Regions from separate parts of the Homo sapiens genome. Here region 1 is linked to region 2. The links are contacts of gene promoters, found by promoter capture Hi-C in human tissues and cell types (Jung and others, 2019). All regions are on one chromosome and are shown on one strand. The core of a region is centred on a gene start or on the middle of the fragment in contact, and the rest is flanking DNA. Distances in the headings are between cores, read along the strand shown.

The links. Contacts are between HindIII fragments. The study calls those that stand out against the background at their distance.
Region 1: a fragment that was not itself captured here is called in contact with the fragment with the promoter of SPI1 in region 2 in 2 of the 25 tissues and cell types used here (IMR-90 fibroblasts and psoas muscle).

Annotation. Positions count from the first base shown.
Region 1 is chr11:47,302,599-47,306,091 of GRCh38, reverse strand. All of the region lies in intron 24 of MADD (MAP kinase activating death domain), which reads right to left. Among named protein-coding and RNA genes, the nearest start is that of MADD-AS1, 32 kb to the right of the region's middle. The HindIII fragment of the contact is 7,250 bases long and covers 1-3,493 here.
Region 2 is chr11:47,376,516-47,379,837 of GRCh38, reverse strand. SPI1 (Spi-1 proto-oncogene) reads left to right here and starts at 1,291. Exons shown (of 5, transcript NM_003120.3): 1 at 1,291-1,529. The coding sequence starts at 1,485. RefSeq lists enhancers at 1,128-1,197, 693-1,644, 1,818-1,867, 2,538-2,737. The HindIII fragment of the contact is 21,953 bases long and covers 1-3,322 here.

The sequences.
Region 1 (3,493 bases), core at 28-2,527, 74 kb after region 2:
GAAGAAGCAATCTGTATCCCAGGAAATGGTGCCTTGGCCACCCAGGGCAGTCATGCATCCTAGCACCTAACTTGAAGCGGCACCCTGCATTCCAATGATACTGTGCCTGGGTCACCCAGAACAGTCATGCCCACACTAGGCCTGTGCTAAAGCAGCACATTGTCCCCAGGGGAATTGGTGGCTGGCCAAGCTGAGCAGCTACGCATTCCAGGGCTGAGCTGACACAGTACCCCATGTCCCAGGAAACAGAGCAGTGGCTGAGCTGAGATACCTTGCCCTAGCCAAACAACTCCAGTACCCTGCTTCCCTGGAACTGGACTTGCCCCTAGAGTCTGAGCTGCTAAGATACCCTCTTCCTGGGGAGTGGAGTCATTGCTGTGCTGCTCCCTGACCCCCAGGGCCCAAATGACAGCTGTGCTCTGCCACGCTGGGGTATTCGCTGCCATTGCACTTGGCTTCACAGAGTCTAGGATACAGCCAAGCCCCACCATCCTGGAGTCTAGAGTCACTACTACATGGTGCCTCATTCCGTGGGACCTGAGCTGCCACTGAGCCCTATTGGCTCAGATCCCTGAATTGCAGCTGTACCCTGCTCCCTAGGCCCAAACCTCCAGAGCACCCCTTCTTCCACAGAGTAAGGCCAGTGCTATGGCCTATCCCCCAGTATTAGAATCACAGTTATGAGCCAGTCCCCTGGGCCTGAGCTGCTAGCGGGTGCCTCAGATCCTGGCTCTGTGGGCAACCTACATCCAACCTTGCCACAGAGAGCAAATCTGTACCCCAATACCCAGGTGCCACAATAGGTTTGTGAGACCCTAAGCCTGGAAACCTGACTCCACAGCTACTCCACGCATCTGTACCTGGAACCCAGTGCCTCTGCAGCTGCTTGTAGGCCATGTCAGTCAGACCTGACACCAAGAGGGATTCTCTTGGCTGAGTCACTCCATTGTGAGGAAAATGAGAATAGGAGGACTCCAAAACTCCTTGACACCAAGGATATTAACAACATATACCACCACTGCCACTGCCACACTTCTATAGCCTAGGACTCTTGAGGCACCCATAGTTATTGCTCATGTTGAATGCAGCTGAAGAAGCTACACAGAAAACATACCACTACATCTATCCAGAAACAGAGTTGCCATACCCTTCCCAACTGGCACACTAAAACCCAACTGCATGTGAAAGTCTTTCTCTATGAAAGCCACTCCAGAGAGTTTGGAAGAAGTGACTGTTCTGCCAGATGTGGGGTATCAACACAGAGACATAAGAAACATGAAAAAAACAAGGACATATGACTCCACCACAGGAACATAATAACTCTTTGGTAATAGACCCCAATGAAAAGGAAATCAATTAATTGCCAGAAAATAAATTAAAAGTAATGATCTTAAGGAAATGCAATGAGATACAAGAAAATACAGATAGATGATTCAACAAAATCAGAAGAACAGTTCATGATATGAATTAGAAATTCAACAAAGAGATAAAAATCATAACAAAAAAACAGAAATCTTGCAGCTGAATAATTCAATGAACAAAGTTTAAAAAATACAATAGAGGGCCAGGCGTGGGGGCTCACACCTGTAATCCCAACACTTTGGGAGGTGAGGTGGGTGGATCGCCTGAGGTTGGGAGCTCAAGGCCAGCCGAAGCAACATGGAGAAACCCCGTCCCTATTAAAAAATACAAAATTAGCCAGGTGTGGTGGCGCATGCCTGTAATCCCAGCTACTTGGGAGGCTGAGGCAGGAGAATTGCTTTAACCCACGAGTCAGAGGTTGCGGTGAGCCGAGATAGTGCCATTGCATTCCAGCCTAGGCAACAAGAGCGAAACTCCGTCTCAAAAAAAAAAAAAAGGAAAAAATACAATAGAGAACTACAACAGCAGACTTGATCAAGCAGAAGAATGACTCTATATTTGAAGATAAGTCATTCGAAATTAGTCAGAGGGAAAAAAGTTAGAATGGAAAACAGTCAAGAAGGTCTACAACACTTAGGGGATCTCATTAAGTAAACAAATATTCATATTATTGGATTTCCAAAGAGAGAAGGGGAAAGGCATAAAAAACTTATTTAATGAAATAATAGCTGAAAACTTCCCAAGTCTGGGGAGAGAGATGGACAGCCAGATCCAGGAAGCTCAAAAGTCCCCAAACAGATTCAACCCAAAAAAGTCCTCTCCAGCCAGATGCGGTGGCTCACGCCTGTAATCCCAGCACTTTGGGAGGCCAAGGCGGGCAGATCATTTGAAGTCAGGAGTTCGAGACCAGCCTGACCAACACGGTGAAATCCTATCTCTACTAAAAATACAAAAAAATTAGCCGAGCGTGGTGGTGCATGCCTGTAATCCCAGCTACTCAGGAAGCTGAGGCAGGAGAAAAGCTTGAACCCAAGCGGCGCAGGTTGCAGTGAGCTGAGATCACACTACTACACTCCAGCCTGGGTGACAGAGTGAGACTGTCTCAAAAAAAAAAAAAAAAAAGGCCTCTCCAAGGTACATTACAGTCAAATTGTCAAAAGTCAAAGAGAGAATTCTAAAAACAGCCAGAGAAGGCCGGGTGCAGTGGCTCACGCCTGTAATCCCAGCACTTTGGGAGGCCGAGGCAGGCAGATCACGAGGTCAGGAGATCGAGACCATCCTGGCTAACATGGTGAAACCCCGTCTCTACTAAAAATACATAAAAATTAGCCAGGCATGGTAGCAGGCACCTTAGTCCTAGCTACTCAGGAGGCTGAGGTAGAATGGTGTGAACCCAGGAGGCGGAGCTTGCAGTGAGCCGAGATTGCACCACTGTACTCCAGCCTGGGTGACAGAGTGAGACTCCGTCTCAAAAAAAAAAAAAAAAAAAACAGCAAGAGAAAAGTGTTAAGTCACATTTAAGGGAATCTCTATTAAACTAACAGATTTCTCTGCAGAAACTTTACAAGCCAGTAGAGAATGGGATGATATATTCAAAGCGCTGCAAGAAAAAGAATCTCAGTCAAGAATACTATACCCAGCAAAGTTGTGCTTCAGAAATGAAGGATAAACTAAGTCTTTCCCAGACATGAAAAAAAAAATGAGGAAGTCATCACACCCTTACAAGACATGCTCAAGGGAGTCCTACATCTGGAAGTAAAAAGATGATAATTACTATCATGAAAATACACAAAAGTATGAAATCCACTTGTAGAACAGACACACAAAGGAGAAAAAGAAAAGAATCAAACCTTATCTCTACAGAAAACCACCAAACCATAATGATAAATGAGAGGAAGAAACAAAGGACATACAAAATAATCAGAAAACAATTAACAAAACAACAGAAGTAAGTCCACACTATCAATAACAACCTTGAATGTAAATAGATTAAATTCCCTCACTTAAAAGGGGTAGACTGGCTGAATGGATTAAAAAAAAAAAATACTTGACCTAACTATATGCTGCCTACAAGAAACTCATTTCACTAGCAAAGACACATACAGACTGAAAGTGAAGGGATGGAGAAAGA
Region 2 (3,322 bases), core at 42-2,541:
AATTGGAGGACATTATCATATGCGAAACAACGCAGAAACAGAAAGTCAAATACTGCCTGTTCTCATGGGGCTCCTGGAAACCGAAGCTGATAGGTGAATGGATGGATAGGTGGATGAATAGATGGGTGGAATGGTAGGTGGGTGGATTGGTAGATGGGTGGATGAGTGGACTGGTGGATGGATGGATGAATGAATGAAGGGGTAGGTGGATGATGGATGGGTTGATGGACAGATGAGTGGATGGGTAGATGGGTGGATGAGTGGATGGGTGGATGGATGGACAGGTGGATGAATGGATGAGCAGATTCATAGATGGATAAACAGATGGAATTGTGGACTGATGGACTGATAGCAGGTGGACGGGCTGATTAATGGACATATAGATGGTTAGATAGACAAGTAGATAAACAGATGGGTGGGTGGATGAATTGACTGACAGATGAATGAACAAACAAACGGACAGTTGGATAAATGGACACATAAGTGAATGCATGGTGGGCTTGATGAATGGATAGCTGGATGGACAAATAGACAGACAAATAGATGCATGGGAAAACAGATGAATGGTGGATAGGCAAGAAAGGTTTGTAAACCAGGAGGGTTAGATTGATATTCAGGCATTGCCAAGGGATGGGGAAACTGAGAAACCTGGGCTGGAAACAGAGCCCTAGGGATTTGAATGTGGTAATCAAGAAGCTGGGAGGGGAGGGTATAAGAACCCAGGACCCTCTTCTGGTGGTAGGGAAGCCCATGTGAACAGATTCAGAGGGAAGGAAGAAAGCAGCACTATGCTGAAGACCCTACACCTGAGCCCAGCCTCAGCCTAGGGATAGCCTAGGCAGTGGGGGTGCAGGGCCACAGGAAGAGCCAGGCCTGATAGCCTGCTAGATCAGAGCCCTCACCCAGGAAGGCTGACTCCAGAAAGTGGAGGCCCCAAGAGGCCACCCCTTCCAGCTCTGACCCCAATGAGGTGACTGTTGGCTACATAGGGATCTCAAAAGAAGCAGGCATTTGTTGGGTTAGAGCAAAAGCCTCCCAGTGGTGTGGCAGAGCTACACGTTCTCCCTCCCATCCTCCCTCCCCAGCTTAGCCCCCAAAGTCATCCCTCTCAGTCCCAGCTTCCTCTGGGCAGGGGGCCTGGACCCCATGGCTTCCCAGGCCAGCCCTTTGAGCACCACCTGCCCCAGCCGGCCAGAGACTTCCTGTATGTAGCGCAAGAGATTTATGCAAACGGGTTGGGGCGGTGATGTCACCCCAAGGGGACTATCTCCCAGCGGCAGGCCCTTCGATAAAATCAGGAACTTGTGCTGGCCCTGCAATGTCAAGGGAGGGGGCTCACCCAGGGCTCCTGTAGCTCAGGGGGCAGGCCTGAGCCCTGCACCCGCCCCACGACCGTCCAGCCCCTGACGGGGCACCCCATCCTGAGGGGCTCTGCATTGGCCCCCACCGAGGCAGGGGATCTGACCGACTCGGAGCCCGGCTGGATGTTACAGGCGTGCAAAATGGAAGGGTTTCCCCTCGTCCCCCCTGTGAGTACCGGGACTCCTCCACCAGCCCAACCCGTGGCCCTCGGACGCCTGCCTGCCTGCCCACGAACCCGCCAGCCCACCCACTGCCCTCCTGGCTTGCTATCAGTGGGAAGTCAGGGTTTCCTCCCTGGAACTCCTGGCCTGAGACCCAGCGAGGGGGCCATTGGCTTCCTCGGAGCATGCCCTGGCGGGCTGAGGCCAGGCCCACGGTGGGGCTGTGATCGGTGGGGCCTGAACAGTTATTTATAGACAGGGCTCGGGTGGCAGGCGGAGGCCGGGGCTCCTGGGGAGGGTGCTGGGCTGAGGATGGTGAAGGCGGTGGTAGAGAGGTAGAGGAGGGAGATGGGGGGACTGGCTTGGGGGAGGCCGGTCCCCTGGATGGGAAGGGGTTGAAGGCAGGAGGCAATGGGCAGAAGTCTTGGCCCATGGCCTTGGGGCTCCTGGAAACCAAAGCTGATGGAACTCTGGGTCCCCAACGCCCAGTCTGGGGCCTGGCACAGAGGACATGATTGTTGACCAAAGGGTCAGGGCCATGGGCCCACAGGGGTACCCACAGGAGACAGGGACTGGTGCTGGAAAGGAGCCAGGAGTGGAGCTGAGACAGTGCAGTTAGGGCTGGCCCCAGGGCTGGAGTTCAGGGAGAGGCGCGGCAGGGGACAGGGCTGGGACAAGGCCAGGACTGAGATTGGGGCTGGGTGGGACCTGGGGTGAGCATGTGATAAGTGAGAATGGGGGCTGAGGCTGGGACAAGGACAGGGACTGGGTCTTGGGGGTGAAGAAGTGGGAGCCCCAGGGGACCCCGAGAAGAGAAGGGCAGATCGCCACTGCTCCTCACTCTCAGTGACAGTTGCAGCCTTAGGCAGGTGTCAGACCAGGGTCCCTCGGAAAGGACCCTTCTCCCTTTTCCCACCCCATGACCTCTCAGGAGTGAGGAGGCTTGAGGGGAGCCGGGAAGGGCTTGGCAGGCTGCCCACCTGAATCCACTTTCCTGGTCTAGAGGCAGCTCCCTTCCCCCACTATGCCCTGGCTCAGAGCCACCCCAGGAGGCTGGGAGGCACCCCAGGCCTGACATCACACCAACCCGACCAGAGCCGGGCTGACATCCTGCAGCGAGGCTGTACTACCTGGAAACCCAGAGGGGCAGGCTCAGTGCTGGGCTCCTGGCCTCCTCACTTGGCCAGCCACAGGCAGGACCAGGCAGGACCAGCCAGCCTGCTGTGGCATCCACACCGACACCCCTTCCCACCTGGGAACACGAAGTGGGCGGCCCAGGCAGAGGGTGACGGAGGTTGTCTCAGAAAGAGCCAATTCTGCCTCAAGAAAGCCACAGGCCCACTGTCTCTGATCCCTGACCTCTCAATTCTGAACTCCAGGTGGAGCTAGATGGGTGGCAGAGCTCCTTGGGCCATCCCTAGGCACCCCCAGCCCTCTCTGCAAGCTCCAGGGTCACTCTGAGTGTCTCCTGGTAGGGTGGGCTCCCAAGGCAGCCCCGGTCCCCCAAGCCCAGCCCTAAGGGCCACAGTGACTGTTATGCAATCCTGGGCCACACGCTGCGGGGGCGGGGAGGCCTGATGACTGTTGGGAAGGCTCCTGGGTGTGCACGGCCCTGTGTCTGTGCCAGTAGGGGGAGGAGGACAGGGAGGAGGGAGGAAGGTGGGAGGAAAGAAGGAGGACAGGGAAGAGGGGGAAGAAAAGGAGGACAGAGGGGAGTGAGGAGGGGGAGGAGGAAGCAAAGGAGACGGGGAGGGGGATGCAGTGAGGAGGGAAGGAGGAGGATAGGGAGGACTCAGGAG